Linked DNA regions of Homo sapiens: regions 1, 3 and 4 are each linked to region 2. Evidence: promoter capture Hi-C in 16 types of primary human blood cells and fetal thymus (Javierre and others, 2016). All regions are on one chromosome and are shown on one strand. The core of a region is centred on a gene start or on the middle of the fragment in contact, and the rest is flanking DNA. Distances in the headings are between cores, read along the strand shown. Region 1 overlaps TRMT11 (tRNA methyltransferase 11). Region 2 holds the start of NCOA7-AS1 (NCOA7 antisense RNA 1). Region 3 has its middle 11 kb from the start of HINT3. Region 4 overlaps HINT3 (histidine triad nucleotide binding protein 3).

Region 1 (6,072 bases), core at 3,469-5,968, 170 kb before region 2:
TAAACTGAGCCTTCACACTGCCCAATATAGCAAAAAACAGGATTGAGTGGTTATGAGAAGTACCAGTATATTCATGCAGGAGAACATAAGTTTCTCTTACTTGGCACACACTGTCCGTTTCATCAAATTTCTTGCAATATCTTCAGAGGGAATGCTAAGAATCCAAAATGGTGACTAAAAGAAATAACAATATGCAACTTAATTCTAAGTGGCTACATGGCCTCATATGCTTTTATTCAAGAAGTCAATAAGGAGAAGTGCCTATTTGCTACTTTCATGTAAGAATATCTGATCTGACTGTAACCAAAATAAAAATCGTTCCAATAGTAAAAAAGTAAATTAGAATAATATAGTAAAAACATTTTTATAATGACCCTATAAACGAATATATCCTCAAATGAAACATTAATTTTGTATCTGCCCTTTTATGTAGCTTTACGAAAGGAATTAATGCATATTATATCCCAAAGTATAATCTTGAAATTCATCATGGCTAATCATCCCTTATAATACAGCTATTTCATTTTTAATTTCTAAGTAATGTATTTCTTAGTTGCTACATGAGACCTTTTTCTAGGTAGGTGTGGCCATCTGAGGGTGAAGGAGGGGCCCTTTGAAACAACTATGATAGAAAATCATGAGGTACATTATTAAATTCTCATTAGCTTTTACTATTTTATATTTTATCTAGGGGAAAAAAGCTCCAAGTGCATCAGGGGTGTTTTCCCAATCCTCTATCCCAACACCCAAGATTACAGGCACTGGTAAGCTGCAGCCAGATAACCTCTTGCCAGAACACAGCAAAATCCAAAAGGATCCTGACCTCATTTCATCACCCTTAGCCAATTATATCCGCACTCTCCTTCCTTTCCTCCTCCCCTCAATAAGTGAAAGTCATTCAGGAATAAAAGTCCAACACTACAGGACTTTCAACTTTAGCTCTTTCATCTTTTGCAAGAAATCCTTCCTGTCACACCTAGCTTTTTTCTTTTTTCTTCAACTTTTAAGTTCAGGGATACCTGTGCAGGATGTGCAGGTTTGTTGCATAGGTAAACGTGTGCCATGGTGGTTTGCTGCTCAGATCAACCCATCGCCTAGGTATTAAGCCCAGCATCCATTAGCTATTCTTCCTGATGCTCTCCTTCACCAGACTCCACCACCCCCAACAGGCTCCAGTGTGTGTTGTTTCCCTGGACATGTCCATATGTTCTTATTATTCAGCTCCCACTTATAAGTGAGAACACGTGGTGTTTGGTTTTCTGTTCCTGCATTAGTTTGCTGAGGATAATGGCTTCCAACTCTATCCATGCCCCTGCAAAGGACATGATCTCATTCCTTTTTATGGCTGCACAGTATGCATGATCTCGTTCCTTTTTATGGCTTCCATGGTGTATATGTACATTTTCATTATCCAGTCTATCACTGATGGCATTTAGGTTGATTCTATGCTTTGCTATTGTGAATAGTGCTGCAATGAACATATGCATGCATGTATCTTTATAATAGAATGACTTATATTACTTTGGGTATATACCCCGTTTTTTTTCTTCCAATATTTACCCTACCCAACAGAAAAATTCAAAATAATCCAAACAAGAAAAAATATTTTCATCTTAGTATTACTTTTATTGAGAAAATTTTTAAAGCAACCTGAATAAAATGAAATGGTTAATTATGGTAGAGCTAGTCAATGAAAAATATTATGTAGCTATGTTAGAGATAAAGGCCAAGTAACAACTTAGGCCTATATTGACACTATCAGGTGAGAAACACAGACTACAGAAGTAGAATTACAATAGGGAAAAAAAAGTACACGAAAAAAAAAAAGACTGGAAGGCAGCATCCCCAAATTATAAGTCACGTCAAGAAGGAACTGCAAATTATTTTTTCTATTTTCCAAACTTCTGTCAAACACTGATATAGTTTTATGCAAAATACAAAGCTCATAAATTCAGTCTTATACAATGCACAATTTCAAATTTTAAAATGATTCTCAACACGAGCCCAACATTCTGCCAAATTCTAAATTCAAATTCTAAACACAGCTCACCAATGGAGCACAGCCCTTTTTTAGGTGAAAGGACAAATTATGACACAACTGTTGACTAAAAATGTAAAACAAATAAAATACTAGAAATAAATCTAAATTACTTAACAAAACCACAAATTTTCCAAAAATATCCACTTTATTCCACTGCCTCTTGAAACAGATACAAGTAACCATACAAATATAAATTTAAGATATGCACTTCTTCTCTTCAAACCCAAGGCTCTATTTCTAAGTATACTCCATATGGTCTAATGAAAATTTAACTTACCTTTCCATAAGTTTCTTGACTGCTGGCAAACTGACCTCCAAAAAGCAAAAGCAAAGACTTTATTTCCTGTATTGAAAATATTACAGAGAAAATACATTTTAACAAAAAGGAACTAAAAATGTACTAAGGGAGACAGGTATTACATGACTAAAAAATAAGAGTAGGCTGAAGATCTAACTGAGGCATTTAAGCTTCAACATCAGACAATTACAATTTAGGGTTCAGAAATAATCTAATAATAAAAACCACAGGTAAGTAATTTCTGAGAAATTTTCGACAACAGAAGAGTTAGCAAACACTTGATCAAAAAATTCCCTGATTTTGGAAAGGAAAAAAACAGGTTACACAAAGTGCAGATTAGTAAGACTGACGATTGATGAATAAAGTTAAAATGAAAATCAGACACATGATTTGAAGATGTTTGGAAAAGAAAAAAATAATCAGCCAGGGCATACCACTATGTATTCATTAAGCACAAATAACTATCTCATCTTCTTTCTGTGTAAAGTTACAGAACTAGAAACAGAACTAACATAATAGATACTTTAAAAGCATCATTCATGCAAAGTTGAAATCTGTCCAGAGAGTGTTTATATTCTTTGAAGCAATCACTTTGTACTGATAAACCCAAATAATTATACAAATTTTATAATTTGTATGACTAACAAGTTATCTCCTTAAATCACATAAAACAGGTAGAATCACACTCTTCCATATAGGTCTCATGGAGGATGGAACCTAATGAGAGGTAAGTGTTCCACTGCTGGCTACCTACTATCCCCTTTCCTCCCAACCAGAAGGAAGAGCCTTTAACACCAAGCCCACCGCCATCAAAAGGGAAACTATACCCAGACCAGGAAGTCCCCCACTCCAAGACCAAGAAGAATGAGAAGTTCAAGCTACTAGTGCCATTTCTATTTTGTCTATGCAACAAATCATTTTTTAAAATTCAGTGTTAGAAGGGGCTGAATTCAGTCCAATCAGATGGATCGACCAAGAACTATCACAGACTACTGATAAATCAGTGAAGGCAGCCCAAAGGTTATTTTGCAGCAAGGAAAACACAAATCTGAATAGGAGACATCATGAGACTTAGAAATTAAATAGACCATAATCTGATTTTCAGCTCTTCCAAATACTAGCGATGTGGCTTTATACAAGAATCTTAAATCCTCCAACTTTTAGTTCCCTCAAATGTGAAACAGGAATCATAGCTACCTCATCAGGTTAGGTGAACTATAAAGAGAGAAGCATAGAACCTAGGTGGTTATTAAGGGAATCAAAATGATGAGGACCCTGATAACTGTCCTAGAAGTCCAGTGGCTCAAGAAGTCAACCAAGACTGATAGAGTTATAGCACTTAAAAGAAAAAAAATAAAGTTATAGATTAAATTACTTCATCTTGCATGATTGTTGTTTGTTCTATATTAAAGCATATTGTAAAGTCAGTTTTACATTTAAAACATCCAACTATAACCAAGTTAAAACACCAAAGTTTGCTGCTCCTGGAATATACTGTTAAAAAGCTGCAACAAGCTAAAACACAAAGATCCTAAGAGTTAGGTGGGGAAAAAAAGTGAAAGATTAAAGTTTTATGGCATAGCATTATCTCTACTACCCAAAGCTTAAGCAGCCACCTAAAACTGAGAATAAATATGATAACCCAAGTTTCAAATTGAAAAGCAAAACATGTTTAAACCACTTCATCAATCTACTTGGAAAAAGCAAAACACAAAATGTTCATTAATCTTATGGCAAATTCAACTTTCCAGTTGAGACTCTTTCTATATTAGGAATAAAAAATAATTTATATTGAACATTGGATATAAAAATGTAGCATGATCTGGGGCATGTGTGATGCGTTAATTCCATGAGCTTTTCTATTATTTCAGCTACTTGCTTTTTCATCCATTTAAAAGGTTGCTTCAGGACAAGCAATAAAACCCAGGAGTTTGAACTTTAGTAAACACTATTTAGTACAATAAGTACTACATTAAGTAGCTGCCAACTATACTTAGCCCTGATTAACTCTATCAGAGGTAAAACTGGACCACACTTATATTCCTGATCTCTCATTTTAATTCATAAAGGCAGCCATTCATTATAGCTTCCTTGCTTATCAGTTCTAATGCAGTAGCTGGGCCCAAAAGGATAGACTGTCCTTTGCATTGCCTTTCCCAGAAGAGATTCTATATCACTGATTTTAATATTTTAAGCAGCCAGGTATGGCGGCTCCACCTGCAATCCCAGCACTTTGGGAGGCCGAGGCAAAGAGATAACTTGAGACCGGGAGTCTGAGACCAACCCTGGCAACACAGTGAGAGCTCCCAAGACCCCCTCCCGCCCCCTCACACCAACACTCAGCCTCTGATTAACACCCGGCTCCACAAAAATAAAAATAAAAAAATTAGCCAGACATAGTGGTGCACCTGTAGTCCCAGCTACTCAGGAAGCTAAGGTGGGAGGATGGCTTAACTTGGGTCTTTGAGGCTGCAGTGAGCCACGGTCACGCCACTGCACTGTAGCCTGGAAAACAGAGAGAGAACAGTCTCCAAAAAAAATTTTTTTTTTTTTTTTGAGATGGAGTCTCACACTGTCACCCGGGCTGGAGTGCGATGGTGTGATCTCGGCTCACTGCAACCTCCACCTCCCAGGTTCATGCGATTCTCCTGCCTCAGCCTCTTGGGTAGCTGAGATTACAGGCGCACACCACCACATCTGGCTAATTTTTTGTATTTTTAGTAGAGATGGGGTTTCACTATGTTGGCCAGACTGGTCTCGAACTCCTGACCTTGTGATCCGCCCGCCTCAGCCTCCCAAAGTACTGGAATTACAGGAGTGAGCCACTGCGCCCGGACCCCCAAAAAAATTTTTAAGCAACTAATATGTGCAAGTCCCTGATCTATGTAAAAATACACACACATTTATCTTAGGGAAATTATGGTCTAGTAGAACCAACAAAACCACCTCACAACTGAAATGTAAAGTGTAAAAAACAGTACATGTTCTTAAACAGGTAAAAGCAAAAAAGTATTAGAGTACAAGAGAGTAAAAGATTACTTCAGTTTGAGAAGTAAAGTTTCATGGAAACTGCCTCAATCCCTGAAAAAAATCTAACCCAATGACAGGAATTCAACTTCCAGGTATGGCAAAAGAGGTAATTCAGATTAAGCTTCTTGCTGAAAAGAACTAGAAAAGCTGGCCATCTAATTGAAGGCATAGAAAGATAACAAAAATTACCAAACCAACATCCAGGAGAGGACAAAAATTCCAAGGTGGAGCCACTTTTTCCCTGAGACATTTACAAATCCAAAAACAGCTGCAAGAGTGAACAGCCCTTCTGAGTGCCCGATAGAAAGGGAAAAAAAGAGAAAGGGCCCCCCAGAGGAGAAAAGGATACTTGATGAACCACCTAATTTACACTAGGATGTCAAAAAGCTACACTCTGTGAGTACCTGGGAATCAGAACACAAACAGGGCTTAACACCTGAAAATGAGTTAAACCCAACCTAGATTCCTCATGCTCCTATGCGTTCCTATCTTCTTGAAGAGGATGTACATCATCCCAGCCCTCAAATTATTTTTTCAAATAAATTTTCAAATACAACATCTGGCATATATTTTAAAAATAGCCCACTATATGAAACAGAACAAAAAGAAACAATAGAAACAGACCCACAGGATCCCTTTTATCATATACTTTAACATAACTACGCTTTCTACATTGAAGGGGATTCAAGAAAAAAATAAGAAT
Region 2 (5,647 bases), core at 2,222-4,721:
AAATAAAATGACCAAATATTAAAAAAGTATAAAGCTAACATTTAGCAAGTACTTAAAACTGTTCTATTTGCGTTTTATGTATCAACACAATTAAAACTGTGCTATGACTGAGTATCTGAATCCAACAATGGGCAATAAATTTCTCCTCAAATGCCAGACATACTAAAGATGATTTAAGATGATAAATCTCTAACAGCCCTTGGCCAGCAGGAAAAAACAATCTACAGTTAATTAAAGAAAGGGCAAGAGTTCACATCACACCACTCCACCCACGTGGTATAATCATTCTTGGCACTGGCACACCACAAAGAGATGGCTGCTTCCTAGGATTCAAAGGTTGCCTCTGTGGGGCTGGAGACAAGGAGCATAACACTTTGTGCTCCACCAGTGCTGCAGATCAACCACCCAGATCCATCCACGTGATGCCTTCCACTGGACCTCAGACTCTGTATTTGACCAAGAGGACAAAGGAAGGCTTTTTGTACAGAATTATTTCTGCATTCATTTCTATCATGGGCAACTGCTCTTTTCAGACAACATGCAACCTTAGGGAGTAAAGTGGATCACTGTAATGCAACACCCTGACTTACACAGGTGAAGTATTACAGACTGCCTGCTTCCTATTGTCTTGGTAGGTTAATACTCTGACATTAACCATATTATAGATGAATAAGTTGATAAGACATGGATTATGGGATGTTGTCAAGTTATAAACAAATTATTTTTGAAAAGGTCGCTTATAAGTTAGACCTTTAGAACCTATGATGCATTTCTCCAAATTAATTTACACTGGTGTAAATTAATGTTCAGCTGTCAAGACTGCCCACAGAAATCTATGCAACCCACACTGTGAGTAGCAGCAGGTCAGGTGACCTGTGTTCTATAAGCCCCGTTTTGCAACTAAAGGGGCACATGGCAGCACTGCAGAGCATAAGCTCTGGATGGAGAAGGGAAGACCTGAGTTCAAATCCTGACACGCCTATCTTATCTCAGTGAAGTTATTCAACCCCTTTGAGTATAAATTATCATAGCAGTCAAATTATATTTAGGGATGAACTTTTTTTAAATCAGATGTTTGGTATGAAGATAATCTGGATCACTTTTTACAAAAGCCTTTTTCATATCAAGGCATGCAGAAAGATGATAATACTTCTACTCATCCCTGGGGTAAGATGCTGATCATAGCTAAAGATGACCAGCCCAGGTCTCTGACAAACCCAATCCCTGCCTGGCCACTCTGAGGACCAAGGGGGCCAGTATCACTGGCACGCCGCTTGACATGACGGTTCATCAAGCCACTCAAGTGGTGAGGCTCTGATTACCAATTAATATATCTAAAAGTACCCTGGGATAGAGCCAGCCTATCATGGACCCTTTCACCTCATGGGCTTAGGGTCCAACTGTTAAATAAAAGACTGTTAGGTTTCTCAAGGCCCTTTGACTATATAACTCCACTTCATTATATCCCAGAACCTAACTAACTGTGCTTATAGCAAAGTATCTTTGGGAAATGATATGGTTCCAATTTGGATTGTCGTTAAGTGTTCCTTCTTCCCTGATCTGAACAACAGGAGCAGCTCATGGGCTGAAAGTGGGAGGTCAAGATGAAAATTAGGTGAAGATGTAGGTAGACACAGAAGTAAGATCAGGAATGATTTGTTATTAAAGGAATGTGTGAGTACTCACTGTATCAGGTACTGTTCGTATATTACCCTCAATCTTCATAGCCATCTTGGTTTCATTTTACTTGAACACGAAAGCTACAAAGTGTACTATTCACACAACAGAGAAAGCTATACAGTGGGTTCAAATCTCCTCTGCCATGGAAAAGAGAATAAGGGGACCAGCTGTTCAGCTCTGGCCCTCCTTGCTGGGTCCCATTTGAGCTTCTCTCCAGTTCTGGCTGGTTGGGATGTCTCCTTCTTCAAAAGCATCTTGTTAGTTGGTTATTTTTAGCAACATTTAACAACTGAAGAAATGTAAGGTAAAGGAAGCTTAGAAGACTTGCCAGAGGTTATACACTGGAGTGAACTGCAAACACTAGGTGTTCTGCTTGTGGGTCAGAGGTTCAAGGGTGAAGAATTGCCAGGGCAGAGGCTGGAGATGGGAGCTAAGAAATGTTCTACACTTTGCATCCTTTGTCACTGAGAATGATGACAGAGGTGGTGCTGGCTCCTACTGCTGCTCTGAAAGGCTGGGTTAAGAGGAAAGCGGAGGTGGGAGCAGCAGTTCTGCTTTTCATGACAACCAGGGAATAGGGGAGGTGGGAGCCAACAAGGGACCTACATGAACACCCAGTCTGTGTCTTCGTCTATATTACTCACTGTTTACTCCCAGGCTCTCACACCTTATCAGAGGGGAAAAGTAAACCTCCCACAAAACACCATTTGGTTCAACTACAGATGTATTTTGGATATCTTCAATCAACGCTTGATCCTGAAAAAATGCTTTCAAAGAATCTTCAACCAATGGCATACAAGGACCTACTCGGAAATCACAAAAGCCAAATAATGTCAAGCAAGTGTGTAAGAAGACAGCCCTGTATGGCAATACTAAAGAAAATTTTGCATTCTAACTACAAGGGGAAGGAAGAGTCAGCAGGGGTGTAACAAATGACACATGATAGTCACCCCAGAGGATAGCATAAATTGTACACAGTACAAATAGTACAGAAAGTATAATTTGCTTTAGTAATTCAGTTTTTCATTTGGTTTTCAAGACCTGTCAGGGATCAAGAAATTAATATAGACATATACTAATTTTGCATATATAAATTATTTGCAAAACCATTTGTGAAAAAGTTTCACAAATCATTCAATCTAGATTTAACAACTGTTATAAAACTATCCTGAAGCACCTGAAAACCAGTTGGACCAGGGTCAGAAAATCCAAAAAATTCATCAGGTCTTATCCAGAATTACTCTATCTAGTAGCAGTATTAATCCACCCCTCTATTTAGAGTTACACAGGCATATTTCAAGATAAATTATAAGAAAGGAAAGACTGGGTGACCCTCAAATCACTAATTTCAATCCAAAATTATTAAAATAGGGTATTTTAAACTCTATTTTGATGTTAAAGAGCGAAACGTCAACAAAACAGGTTTGGCAAAGGACTATTTATCAAACACAGTCACACAACGATTATGAAACCACATGATAAGATAGCACACAAAGAAAACATTGGCTATTTAACTACTCAGGAGGAAAAACTAGGTGTTCCTAGTTTTTCCTAGGTGGAAGGGGGAAGCAGGCTAAAAAGCAGTTTTTAGGGTTTCAGATATGTAATTGTGGCAGCAGGCACAGCATCAGGGTAAATCTTCCTTTTGACTTCCTCAGAACACCAGTTGAGATTTATGTAAGGTGGTATAATTTAGTTTAGAGAAAACTGAGATTGCATCAGTTTGGCCTCACCCTTGGCCTGACATTTTATCCTTCTCTCCAGAGATCTTGCTTGGACTGCCCTTAAGTACGCTGCTCCAGAGAACTCTGCTCTACATTGTCAGAAACCAGCTTTCAAGTAAGTTCTGTTGCTAGTTCCACATGGTAATTCCACAGTTAAGTCAGAAGGCATTTGAAAAGATGTATAACTTTGGATGGCTCTTTTCTGATTATAGGCTGAAGGGGGTTCTTTTCTCTTTGGTTTGCCTTTTGCTTTTAATAGCTTGACCATTTCTGGCTTCCACTGCATTGTAAGAGCTAAACTACAGGTTTGTCAGTCAGTGTTTCTCTCTCTGTCTCTTTCTCTCTCTCCCTGCTCCTACCCCCTCTTCTCTCCATTCTCCTCTCTCCATCTCTCTCATTTCCTAGTTACAAATCATGTTGTCTTACTGTCTTAAGAGCATCACTGATTTCATCCTTGTGCCACTGTCCCTATGCTCCCAAGATCACATTTCAGCATTTTAGGATACGTTTTTTGTTTCATTTTTAGAATACTTTTCAGAAGAGGTCATGATAAGCAAGACAATTTTACATTTCTGAGTTGAAAAAACTGTGCTGCTCTTCCAGAACAGTTTTGGTTTGTATTCTCAGTTTCAGGGGCTCCCCTGACTCTACATTTTAGGAACAAGAAGAGGTTAACATTGAGCAGGTTGTTCATGAACCGGCAGTTACCTTTACTACAGGAATCACTTTGGATTCAGGCTGAGAAGGCACTATAGCTCTTAAAATCACTATGTAGGGCAAGTGAAGAAGAAAGAAAAGAAAGAAGAAGAAAGTAAGGAGGAGGAGGAAGGAGGAGGTGGGAGAAAGAAGGAAGGGGGAGAAGCGGGAAGGGGGAGGAGGAAGAAGAGGAGGAAGAGGAGCAGGAAGAGGAGCAGGAAGAAAGGGAGGAGGTGAGGAAGGGAGACGGGGAGGAAGGGGAGGAGAAGCATGACCACCATTTTGACCTAAACTCATATCTTATCCACAAATAAATTCAAAATGGATCACAGACTTAAATATAAAACATAATGCTATAAAATTTTCAGAAAAGAAAAACAGGAGAGAATCTTCAGAACATACAGCTAGGCAAAGAGATCTTAGAATTCAGACCAAAAGCACAATTCATAAAAGGAGAAACTGATAAATTGAACCACATCAAAATTAAAACCTTTTGCTCTGCAACTCTGTTAACTGGATGAAAAGACAAACTACAGTCCGGGAGAAAATATTTGCAAATCACATATCCAACAAAAGACTAGAATGTGTACAATTCAACAGTAAAAACCTAAACAATTCAATTAGAAAATGGGCAAAAGATAGGAAAGGAGATGCCACTAAAGAAGATACACTATGGCTAATAATAAGCACATGAAAATGTTAAACTTCACTAACCATTAAGGAAATACAAATTAAAACCATAATGAGATATCACTACATACTTATCAGAATAGCTAAGATAAAAATAAAAAATATTGACACCACCAAATGACAATGCAGACAAACTGGATTACTCAGACTTTGCTGATGGGAATGTCAAATGTTACAACCATTCCAGAAAAGAGTATTGCACTTTTTTATAAAACTAAAAATACACTTATCTTTTGACCCAGCAATTGCACTCTCAGACAATTATCTCAGGGAAATGAAAACTCATGCTCATACAAAAACTTGTACATAAATGATTGTAGCATCTAGCATCTTTGTTCATAAATAGCCCAAACTGGAAACAACCTAAATGCCCTTCAATGGGTAAATGACTAAAAAGCTGTGATTCATCCATACTATGGAATGCTACTGTGCAATAAAAAGGAACAAACTATCGATACATGCAACAGCTTTGAGGGATGTCAAGGGAGTAATGCTGAAGGGAAGAAAAAGCTAAATGCCAAAGGTTACATACTATATGATTCCATTCACCTAGTATTCTTGAAATGACAAATTATAGTGGTTGTCAGAGGAGGCAGGCAGATGGAAGGAGTGAGTAGGGATACAAAAAGGTAGCATGTGGGATCCTTTTAATGCAACTGTTCTGTATCTTGACTGATGGTGACCACAGAAATCTACATGTGATATAACTGCATGGAACTAAATACACACAAACACACATACAATGAATGCTCTGAATAAGGCTGGTGGATTGTATCAATATGAATTTCCTAGTTGTGATACTGTACTATGGATAAAGAATACAGGGTATCTATTACTCCTTACAACTAACTACATGT
Region 3 (5,731 bases), core at 160-2,659, 130 kb before region 2:
TAGAAGTAGAAAAGAGAAAAATTCCAAGGACCAAGCTTGGAGCAGTCTAGCATTGTGAAATCGGATAAATGACAAATAATGAGACGTGAATGAGAAAAAGTGTCCTATGACACAGGAGAACAAGGAGAGAATGGTGTCCTGAAGGCAAAGCAAAGAGTGTTTCAAATAGGAAGGCGTGATCAACTATGCCAAAGGCCAGTAATAGCATGAGAAAGAGGAAGACTCAGAATTGACCTAAGGTCATTGGAAAAGCTGATAAAAGCAGTTTTAGTGTTAGAGGTGGGAAGAAAGGCTGATTCCTGTTGGTTTAAGAGAGAATGATAAAAAAGGAATTTAAGTCAGTAAGTTAATAACCAAAGAGATTATTCATAGGAAAAAAGAGAAGTTATGTAAAAAATATCAGAGACTATGAGCTACACTGATAAAGGCCAGAAGAGGTAGAGATACCGGAGTGGCTGAGCAAAGTGACTGTTACCAACTCAAAGTAAATAAATTTCTTTCATGTTAAGTTGCTCAGGTGTCTCCATTCCTTGAAACCTCAGGAAACTCAACTAACTTACCATTCTTTCCCCACCAGCTTTCTAACTCTACCTCTATCACATTTTAAAAATTTTATACACTTGCTTCAGTTTGCAAGCTGTGTATCCTGGTATGTTAAATGGATTGTTAAATTATTCCATTATTATATGCTGTTTAAATCCTATACATAGGATGATGCTTTCTAGATGTTCCTGTCAGCTCCCAATACTTATTTGAATGTAAATTCCCTGTGGGTGGGACGTGGTCTTGTTTATCAAAACATCCAGCCTGGTATCTGGCACACAGTAGGCTGTGGAAAAACATTAATTGTGGGAATGGATAGATGGATTGTACATATTTAAAAATGTACAGTGAAATCTGATTTTCTCAATGGCATCACTAATGGCATAGCTACTGGTATTGTCCTTTCAAATTCAACTTTTCTTTTTGTGGGTTTTTATTTCTCTCCGTGATGCTAAATGCATAATACTCTTTTTATTGCTGCTTCAAATACCAGTTAATATCAGTATTCTGGGTGGAGCTGTTCCTGGCAGGCTGTCATGAACCTAAGAGGCTGCCTTGGCACAGAGGCCCAACCTAACTGATGACCAATCCTTTCTCAAGAGCATTCCAGGGCATCTTCTCTCAGCAGGAAACTGCTGGCTGGGCCGTACCCTTAGAAAGGGATAGTGGACCCTTCTAGTACAAGAAATTAGCTCATAAAGACAGTTGTGACAACTGGCCACCATTTCAGGGGGCAAAAAAAATTATATCTCTTCTTTATACCATGCACTCAGATATACTTCTGTTGAAATTAACTATTTAAATGCAACAACTGAAACCAAAGAACTGTTACGGGTTTCTTTAAGATGTGGGTGAATATTTACTTTGCCTTGGGGGTGGCAAGGAAAGGGCCTAAGTGCTCAAAATGGATTCCATTAAATAAATTACTGATTGATGTAAAATAAGATTTTTTAAAGTATGTAAAAGTGCCAAAAACTGCATTGAAAGAAAAGTGGAAATTTGAGTGAAAATATTTGCATCATGCGTGAAAAATAGTATTAATAAACTTATCTAGGAAGAGTTCTTACAAAACAATGAGAAAGAATTGAGGCCAGCACAGTGGCTCACACCTGCAATCCCAGCACTTTGGGAGGTCGAGGCAGGTGGATCACTTGAAGCCAGTAGTTTGAGACCAGCCTGGGCAACATGGTGAAATCCTATCTGTACTAAAAATACAAAAATTAGCTGGACATGGTGGTGCACGCCTATAGTCCCAATTACTCAGGTAGCTGAGGCAGGAGAATCGCGTGAACCCACAAGGCAGAGGCTGCACTGAGCTGAGATCATGCCACTGCACTCCAGCCTGGGCTACAGGGCAAGATCCTATCTCAAAAAAAAAAAAAAAAAAAAAAAAAAAAAAAAACAGTTGAAAACCCTAGCAGAAAAATAAGCAGCTTTTATGAAAGTAATTAATTAAAAGAAAAAGTACCATTTAAAAATGTGAAGAAAATATTCATCCTTACTAGAAATTGAAGAAGTCTACGTTAAATAACAGTGAAATAAGCCTTTCCCCAATTAAATTGGCAAAGATTCCTTTATGCAATAGCATTTGTATTGCGAGGGCACAGGAAAATAAACACTCTCCTACACAACTGACATGATGCACTCTACATTTCTGATAACGTAAAGAAAGAGTTTCAGGAGGGAGGATAGGAGACCATTTATGGGAATTACAGAGCTCTATGAGGGTTAGAGAGCTGGAAATAAGGGGTGCCCTGGGACTCTGATGCTTCCCGTGTAATTCACATGAGCAAGGATAAAGGGCGTAATGGGAAAATTGAAGCTCTCAGAAGAGAACTTCAACTGACTCCCTCCAAAATGATGACTCATATACTTGGCCTTCCTGACTGATACCAAAGATAAACAGTCTGTGCTCATATCAAAACTAATTCCTCCACTTACATGCTAGATCCCATTCCTTCTTGCTCACGCAAGAACACCACTTCAGAAATTCCCCTTATGTCTTACATCATGTATTTTATTATCTTTACTGGATCATTCTATCCACTTACAAACATGCTATAATTTCTTCCACTCTAGAAAAATGAAATGAAACTTTCTTTTGAGCCTACTTTTCCCACCAGGACCTGTCCCATGTATTTGTTGCTCTTAGCAGGAAATCTTGAAATAAGTGTCCATACTAGCTCTCTCCAATTTCTTTCCTCCCGTTCTCTTGTAAACCTTCTCTTCTTTCAAGCTTTTCTCTCCACACACACTGCTCTTGGGTGACCTCCACATTGCCAAATTCAATGGCAATTCTCAGTCCTTTTCTTATCTGATTAGCAGCATTTGGCACATTTTAATAATCCCTGTCTCCTTAATACACCTTCTTCATATGTTTCCAGGTCACTGCATTCTCTTGTTTTCCTTTTTTCCTCTTAAGTTCTTTCCCTTCCCTTTGTATCTCCCCTCTAAACTCTTAGTGTTGGAATGGTCCAAGGCTCAGTTCTTGGTCTTCTTCTCTATCTACAATTGCTCCCTTGATTTTATCCAGTCTCACTGCTCTAAATATCTATAGGCCCATGGCCTACACTTGTAACTCTTCATGCTTTTCTTCAAGTCACAATCCAACTACATGCTTGATATTTCCATTCAGGTGTCCGATAGATTGAACTGCTGATTTTTTTTTTTCCTAGAAATCTCTTTTATGCACAGACTTCCAATGTTGGCTGATGACAACTTAATCTTTGCAGCTCTAGAGCCTTTGACTCCTCTGCTCAAAATTCCATTCTTATCAGCAGGTTGATTAAGTAACTTGTGCAATGTCATCCTATTAGTCAGTGACAGAGCTGGAACCCAGAGCCAGGCAGTCTAATGGGAGCTTGAATATGTTAAATAGGTTACAAAAGAGTATGGCTAGTATGATTCCATGTTTATTAAATATAATTAAGGATTTATAAGAAAATGCCTGAAAAAATAGATTCACTCTTGGTCTGTGGATGGACATATTATGGCTGGATGTTTTTCCTTCCCTTTTATCTCTACATTTTATTTATTCAACAATACTTTTGTCATAAGTAAAACATCCTGATCAACTTTTTTTAAGATTCAGGATTCCAGATGAACTTCATTTCCTCTAATAATTCTCTGCTTTATAAATAACCCTCTTCCATATATTTTTGAATTGTTCATGACATGTCAGAAGATATAGGGCATTTTCATGCAGATTTCATGGTATTTCTGGCAGAGGTGGACTATTGAGCTGCTATGACCATATGCATGATACAGTGTCATGTTTCTTTCCATTTTATACTGAGGATATGGAAAGTGTGTTTGTGGGTTTGTCCTAATCTGATAAAATATCATCTTGACAATAGGTATATCGTTTTCTGCATCCAAAATAGAAATTTCCTGAGCATGAATACAAAGACTATTCCTGTCTTATATTTAGTAAATACCAATAAATTTTTGCTCTTTCACCACTGTCTGAAGAATATTAGATTTTTCCAAAGGTAAAAGAATAACAAGCATGAAAACATTTCTCCCTCCTTAAGAAAAATAATAAAAGAAATACTTAAGGCTAAGGTGGCTGTTGCCTGGTACTAAATGCTGCGTGTATATTGGCCTCCATCCGTTGCAAGGATTGTGAAATGTCTGGGCAAAATAAGGGGAGGAAGTAGTGCTTGTGTGTGGGAAAAGAGAAATTTCCAGTTTCTGATTACTGAACTACCGTACAGCTCTCTTTGAACAAATACTGGCCGGTGGCCCAAAGTCCCAACTGTAGCTCTTTGAGCTTTGCTAAAGGACATTAAGGGAAGTCCTGATCTGTTGTTAAGTGGAAACAGTGTAAATTATTTCTAATGGAAAGAATGACAAAAGCAAAACTTCCCCATCCCTGCTATTTCCTTGATAAATTGCTTTGTTTACTCGTCTACAGGATGTAATGCAGACATTTCTGTTTTTTATAATCTTTCTTAAAAACCATGTCCTTAAACAAAGCATTGAAAATAATCTCTTCTTTTTTTTTTAAATCAGGAACAAGGCTACACCTGGACTTTGTATTTTTGATAAAGAATTCAGCATAAACAAAGTTGGGTGTGACTAACACCATCATATTTCTAACTTACTTTCATCTGGCATTTTACAATTTTCTAAGACACTTTCATATGCACAAATTGATTTTCATGTCAACTGAGAGAAAAGGATATTATTATCCCTATTTTAGAAATGGAGAAAATAGGACACAGGAAGATGAATTTACTTGGTGGATGATAGATGGGTCTGTCTTGCAGGCCTTTTAGTAGCACAGTGAGGCATTTCTTATCTCCTCCAAAGCAGTACGAAACAGCTACCATGTAAATCAGCATAACTCTGACATCCTGAAGTTAATGTCAATTTTCTTGTCAAGCTCACACCTATATTTCCTCATCATCTCAAGGCCAATGTATCTTATCCACACCACTAACTCTTGTTCTTATTAGTTACCCTCGAGGTAAAAATTTCTCTTTACTCATACCCAAACTTTCCCATGCTTCTTTTCCCCAAACTTTTTTCACTGCTAACCTCCTTTGAAGCTCTTTCCACTGTAAGAAACACAATTTCTTTGTACTTACTCAAACCTATATCCTCAACCTCTTAGCAGAGCGAAATCTTCACCTTCTTTCCTTAACTGAAACTTGGATTTCCTGCAAGAATATTATTTCCCTTGAGCTTTGACAAGCAAAAACTGCTTATTCTCTCTTCCCAACACACTGAGAGATTTGGAAGCAGGGCTGGCATTCTCCTAGCTTCTAAATGCCAGCTCCAGGTGATTCCATTCCTACCCAAGTGCAATGGTGCGATCTCAGCTCACTGCAACCTCCACCTCTTCGGTTCAAGCAATTCTTCTGCCTCATCCTCCCAAGTAGCCGGTATTACAAGCGTGCGCCATCAAGCCTGGCTAATTTTGTATTTTTGGTAGAGACAGAGTTTCATCAGGTGGGCCAGGGTTGTCTTGAACTCCTGACCTCAGGTGATCCACCCACCTCGGCTTCCCAAAGTACTGGGATTACAGGCATGAGCCACAGTGCCCAGCCCTCTGCCCTCTTTGGAGTCTCGTGCTATAGCATGGAACATAATCACCTTCATCTACCTGCTTCTAGATCACTCCTAGATTCACAGAGAACTTCAGCACCTGGCTAACAAACACTGCCAAGCTCCTGCCGTTATC
Region 4 (5,478 bases), core at 2,454-4,953, 150 kb before region 2:
TCAAGGAAGGCCTTAACAGCATATTACGCCTCAATATAATCTTTATGAATTCTGAGTTGGCATAATGTCTTATCACTTCAGTCTTTATCATCGTAAGCTTTCATTCTCTTAAAATATGCTCTTGCAATGAATTTTTAAAAACATCACTGGACACTCAAGTAGTCGTGTTCCTTTATTCAATACATAGCCAGTAGATGGCACACTTTTTCCTTTAATAAAGTACTCAGACATTTCCCACCAAACCAACAATATTTCAGTAGTGAGATTAATTATGTCATCATAAAAAACTTTCGTCATCACCCAGGTTTCTTGTTTAATACTTAAAATAAGTTAGATGATAATGATAATTATGTGCTTCCTAAAAGATACACAAGAATTCCTTTAAATGGTTACAAAGTTTTTAAAATATGATTTAAACTCTTAAAAATAAGCTTACAAAAATTTTTGCAAGTCCACCTATGCTCAGCAGAGCAACACACACCTGTAACAATAATCAAAGCCTAGAAATATTTGCCTGTTCAAGGTATCAGTGAGTGGAAGTGTGGAAAGGAGGCATAGAAGTGCTATACTGCAGCAGTGATCCTCTGGGACTAGCAATGTGGAGTCAGATATGCAGTACATACTTTAAAATTTCCACCACCACCTAGAAGAGGAGACTAGGTTTTCCTTCTGCCAAACAGTCATATAATGTAGAATCAAATAATCTAGAAGCTTGAAGCAACTCAAAGGTTCACTCAATCTTTTCATCTTAAAGATGGAGAAGCCATGATCCAGAAAGTTTAAAATATTCCCAAGGTCCCAAAGTTAGACAGTCGTGGAGCTGGAGTTGAGACTCAGGGCTCTCAATTCTTTGTCCAGTGTTCATTCTTCTAATAAGTATCCTATGACTGTGAAGGAAATGTGTGGCTTCTGGCCAAAGGGTCTCAAACACCATTTGTTCCTTGTCATTATCACACTTGGTAATACTTAACAGTTTTTGGAGGATTTTTCACACAGAGAATCTCATTTGCACCTACCAGCAGGCAGAGCAGGTATTATCTTGGAGAGGCTAAATGGCATGTCTAAACTAATACAGACAGTGTACGTAGAGTACACCACAAGTAGCATGGATGGCATTAGAATTCAAGTCTATTCTGAATTCTAGGTCAAAAGTGTTAGAAGTAATCTCCATTATACCTGCTTGGGTCACAGAAGCAAAATTGGAAACCTTTTAAAAAGAAAAACATTACTTAGACAAATTAAAACATTTGAAAAGGCCCGGCGCAGTGGCTCACGCCTGTAATCCCAGCATTTTGAGAGGCCAAGGCGGGCGGATCACTTGATGTCAGGAGTTCGAGACCAGCCTGGCCAACATAGCAAAACCCTGTCTCTACTATAAGAAATACAAAAGCTAGCCAGGCATGGTGGCATGCACACACAATCCCAGCTACGTGGAAGGCTGAGGCAGGAGAATCACTTGAACTCCGGAGGCAGAGGTTGCAGTGAGCCAAGATCGCACCACTGCACTCCAGCCTGGGGGACAGTGCAAGACTCCGTCTCAAAAAAAAAAAAAAAAAAAAAAAAAAAAGTTGAAAAATTGAACATCATGTGCTTACGCCAGAGTTCAGCAGACAACAAATTCAAGTTAATTTCACGTTAGAATTATAATCATGTGTTTTTAAATCATATAAAATTTTTCTAAGAAAATTCAACTTGCATACAGTTTTATAGGAATGCCCATATTGAACAAAGAAAAGTAGATTTGCTGGGTGTGGTGACTCACACCTGTAATCCCAGAACTTGTGTGAGGCTGAGGCAGGAGAATCACTTGAGCCCAGGAGTTTGAGACAAGCCTGGGCAACATAGGGAGACCCTGTCTCTACCTAAAAAATTTTAAAATTAGCCGGGTGTGGCAGTACTTGCCTGTGGTCCCAGCTACTCTGGAGGCTGAGGTAGAAGGATACTCAGTCTGGGAGGTTGAGGCTGCAATGAGCCATGATCACACCACTGCACTCTAGCCTGGGCAACACAGTGAGATCCTATCTCAAAAATTTTTTTTTAAAAAGTAGACTTGTAACTATTTTACCTACCCACTGCCCATATAGACTTGTCTGTCCAAACTTCAAGTGGAAATTATTGGAAGATATTGAGACACAAGAGGAAGTTTTATTACATTTATACTACCAATGAACTATATTCTCACTTTCAGGAAAACTACATTTAAACCACAAACTGCCACCTCTGTTTCCATTTTCCATGGAGAAATGACATTTTGAAAAACGTCAATAATGTATAATATTGGTTTCCATCTGGAAGTATACACACCTCACATTCGTGAAGTCAGTGAAATTATTTCTTTCAAGAATGGTTTTTCCAACAGTTACCATGTTCTCAACTGTAAAACAGAAAAGACACAACATTACACTAGAGGAGACATTAAGGTCACAAATTGCCATTGATCTTCACTCTTGTCCTATCAAATGGGTAAACATTTAAAGACACATTCAGGCCAGGCACAGTGGCTCACCCCTGTAATCCCAACACTTTGGGAGGAGGATCACTTGAGCCTAGGAGTTTGAGACCAGCCTGGGCAAAAAGGTAAGACCTCGTCTCTAAAAAACATTTTTTAAAAAGTAGCTGGGTGGCCAGGCGCAGTGGCTCATGCCTGTAATCCCAGCACTTTGGGAGGCCGAGGCAGGCGGATCACGAGGTCAGGAGATCGAGACCATCCTGGCCAACATGGTGAAACCCCCATCTCAACTAAAATACAAAAAAAATTAGCCGGGCGTGGTGGTGCACACCTGTAGTCCCAGCTACTCGGGAGGCTGAGGCAAGAGAATCACTTGAACCTGGGAGGCAGAGATTGCAGTGAGCCGAGATTGAGCCACTGCACTCCAGCCTGGTGACAGAGCAAGAGTCTGTCTCAAAAAAAAAAAAAAAAAAAAAAAAAAGGTAGCCAGGCATGGTGGTGCACACCTATAGTCCTAGCTACTCGATACGTGGAGGCAGAAGGATTTCTTGAGCCCAGGAGGTCGAGGCTGCAGTGAGCTATGATTGTGCCACTGCACTCAGGTCTAGGTAACAGAGTGAGACCCTCTCTCAAAAATAAATAAATAAAATAAAAAATAAAGACATTCAGTAGCTTTAAGTCACTGAGAAGTTTGCTTATCAACAACTGAAATAAAGTTTCAAATTGAGCCTCAGTGCAACATCACTATCACAAAATCTCACAGATAAGTAGACTTTAGGACAGCTGGCTATTTAGGACATCTGATCATATGAGGACTAACTCTCATCAAGAAGACCAAGTAATTAAACAGAAATTGTTTGATTTAATAAGACAAGAAAACTTTGAATTTGTCTTTGAGCCCAAATTAAGGATATGGTATCCCTTCCAGTCAGCCTATCCTTGACTAGCCAAAAATTTGTATAATGACTCTGGCTTCCAAATTCCATCTCCTTTATCATCTTTCTTCTCTTGGTGTTTTATGGCCTTCAGGTGGGAATAAACCTGTCCACCAAAAAAATTTTGGTCACCTGGGATCTTCAAAGCACCATGCCAAATGTTAGGCCTCCATAGTTTCTAAATGGTGTAATCATGTATTTGAAAGACGAAGAAGTAAAAACATCTACAGAGGATAGCTGATATATTGAGACTTACAAAATCATTGTTAATGTTTACTTCTTTAAGTCAGGTTTGAGCTGGGAGACTGCCAGCCTTCCAAGACTAGGTCAGTACCATAGAGTCCAAAAAAAAGCTCCAAATTACTTCAAGCCAGACTATATCTTTTTTTGGAATTTTTTCTTTTTCTAATTTAATTATACTGTCTTTAGAGAACATATTTATAAGATTTCAATCATTTGATATGTATTGAGCTGTATTTTATTGCTCGGAATATGGTCAACTTTGGTGAACATATGCTTTTTAAAAAACATGTATGCTGTATTTAAGTGGAGTTCTGTAAATGTCAATTATAGTCATATTCCTTGATAGTGTTCTTGAACTCTTCCATATGCTTATTATTTCCTCAACTTTATCAATTATATAAAAATTATTAATTTGCAACAACTTTTAGTATGGAAATATTCAAATATAACACAAAAGCAAAGAGGAAAATGTAATGGAATCCCAAATACCTACCAGCTGCTTCAAAATTAGCAATATTTGATTTGCAACATTATAAAAACTAGTTATAACAGCCTCTATTCTCCACTTCTGCTGAATATAAATTGAAAAATTCCTAAAAAGCTAAAGTGTGAAACCCAAGAAATAACTACAAGAATGAAAATAAAAACTTTTAATAAGAAAGATGAAATGTTTCAATCAGGTAAATCTAAATTGGATCTAATTGTTATAAGCTCAAATGTACAGTACAGGGTACTGTAGTTATAAATCATATATGTTCTCAAATGTACTGATAGAACTTCAAATGACTAAGGAACTTAGCTGTATTCAGAATCGACAGTTTAAAAATTGTTAGTTAATTCACTAGCCTAAATATTAATGAACTACACATCAAGGTTTTCCATTAAAGTGGTTTCTTACCTCTTAAAAATCTAGCCCAATTGATCTATCATGTAGGCTACCTTAAAATATTGATCAAACTAATCCCAGAACCTCATGACAAAGCCTTTCCAGATTTCAGAAGTCCTAGCCAGAGCAATCAGGCAAGAGAAAGAAATAAAAGGCATCCAAATAGGAAAAGGAGTCAAACTATCTCTCTTCACCAACAATCTGAGTCCATACCTAGAAAACCCTGAAGACTCCACCAACAGGATCCTGGAACTGATAAACTACTTTAGTAAAGTTTCGGGATACAAATTCAATGTACAAAAATCAGTAGCATTTCCAAACACAACACTCAAACTGACAGTCTAAATCAAGAACACAATCCCATTTACAATAGCCACACACACACAAAAATACGTAGGAATACAGCTAGTCAAGGAGGTGAAAGATCTCTACGAGGAGAACTATAAAATGCTGCTGAAAGAAATCATAGATGATACAAACAAATGAAAAAACATTCTATGCTCGTGGACTGGAAGAATCAATATTGTTAAAAAGGCCATACTGCCCAAAGTAATCTATGGATTCAACACTACCAACATCATTTTTCACACAACTAGAGAAAACTATCCTAAAATTCATATGAAACCAAAAAACCCAAGTAGCCAAGACAATCCTAAGCAAAAAGAACAATGCTAGAGGCATCACGTTACCCAACTTCAAACTATACTATAAGTCTATATAACCAAAACAGCATGATAGTGGTACAAAAACAGACACACAGACCAACAGAACATAACAGAAAACCCAGAAATAAAGCCACATACCTGCAGCCATCTGATCTTCAACAAAGTTGACAAATATAAGAAATGGGAAAATACGCCATATTCAGTTAAATGGTGTTGAGATAGCTGGTTATCTATATGGAGAAGAATAAAACTGGACCCCTACCTTTCACCATATACAAATATTAACACAAGATGGATTAA

What was found. The method cuts DNA at HindIII sites, captures the fragments that hold promoters and counts their contacts. A CHiCAGO score of 5 or more calls a contact.
Region 1: a contact is called between a fragment that was not itself captured here and the fragment with the promoter of NCOA7-AS1 in region 2, in 2 of 17 cell types (activated CD4 T cells and erythroblasts). The highest score is 6.2, in activated CD4 T cells.
Region 3: a fragment that was not itself captured here is called in contact with the fragment with the promoter of NCOA7-AS1 in region 2 in 8 of 17 cell types (total B cells, total CD8 T cells, activated CD4 T cells and 5 more); the score reaches 6.8 in total B cells.
Region 4: a fragment that was not itself captured here is called in contact with the fragment with the promoter of NCOA7-AS1 in region 2 in 10 of 17 cell types (activated CD4 T cells, erythroblasts, megakaryocytes and 7 more); the score reaches 9.9 in activated CD4 T cells.

Annotation. Positions count from the first base shown.
Region 1 is chr6:125,990,069-125,996,140 of GRCh38, reverse strand. It overlaps TRMT11 (tRNA methyltransferase 11), which reads right to left. Exons shown (of 13, transcript NM_001031712.3): 2 at 2,319-2,384; 3 at 101-174. Among named protein-coding and RNA genes, the nearest start is that of TRMT11, 6.6 kb to the right of the region's middle. The HindIII fragment of the contact is 1,548 bases long and covers 3,945-5,492 here.
Region 2 is chr6:125,816,682-125,822,328 of GRCh38, reverse strand. NCOA7-AS1 (NCOA7 antisense RNA 1) reads left to right here and starts at 3,471. Exons shown (of 3, transcript NR_126386.1): 1 at 3,471-3,519. The region is part of intron 2 of NCOA7 (nuclear receptor coactivator 7); the gene reads right to left. RefSeq lists a silencer at 152-446 and an enhancer at 3,745-4,246. The HindIII fragment of the contact is 4,548 bases long and covers 1,997-5,647 here.
Region 3 is chr6:125,943,168-125,948,898 of GRCh38, reverse strand. No RefSeq gene overlaps it. Among named protein-coding and RNA genes, the nearest start is that of HINT3, 11 kb to the left of the region's middle. RefSeq lists enhancers at 2,262-2,556, 2,207-2,701. The HindIII fragment of the contact is 2,744 bases long and covers 38-2,781 here.
Region 4 is chr6:125,969,155-125,974,632 of GRCh38, reverse strand. HINT3 (histidine triad nucleotide binding protein 3) reads right to left here. Exons shown (of 5, transcript NM_138571.5): 3 at 2,305-2,374. Among named protein-coding and RNA genes, the nearest start is that of TRMT11, 15 kb to the left of the region's middle. The HindIII fragment of the contact is 5,980 bases long and covers 714-5,478 here.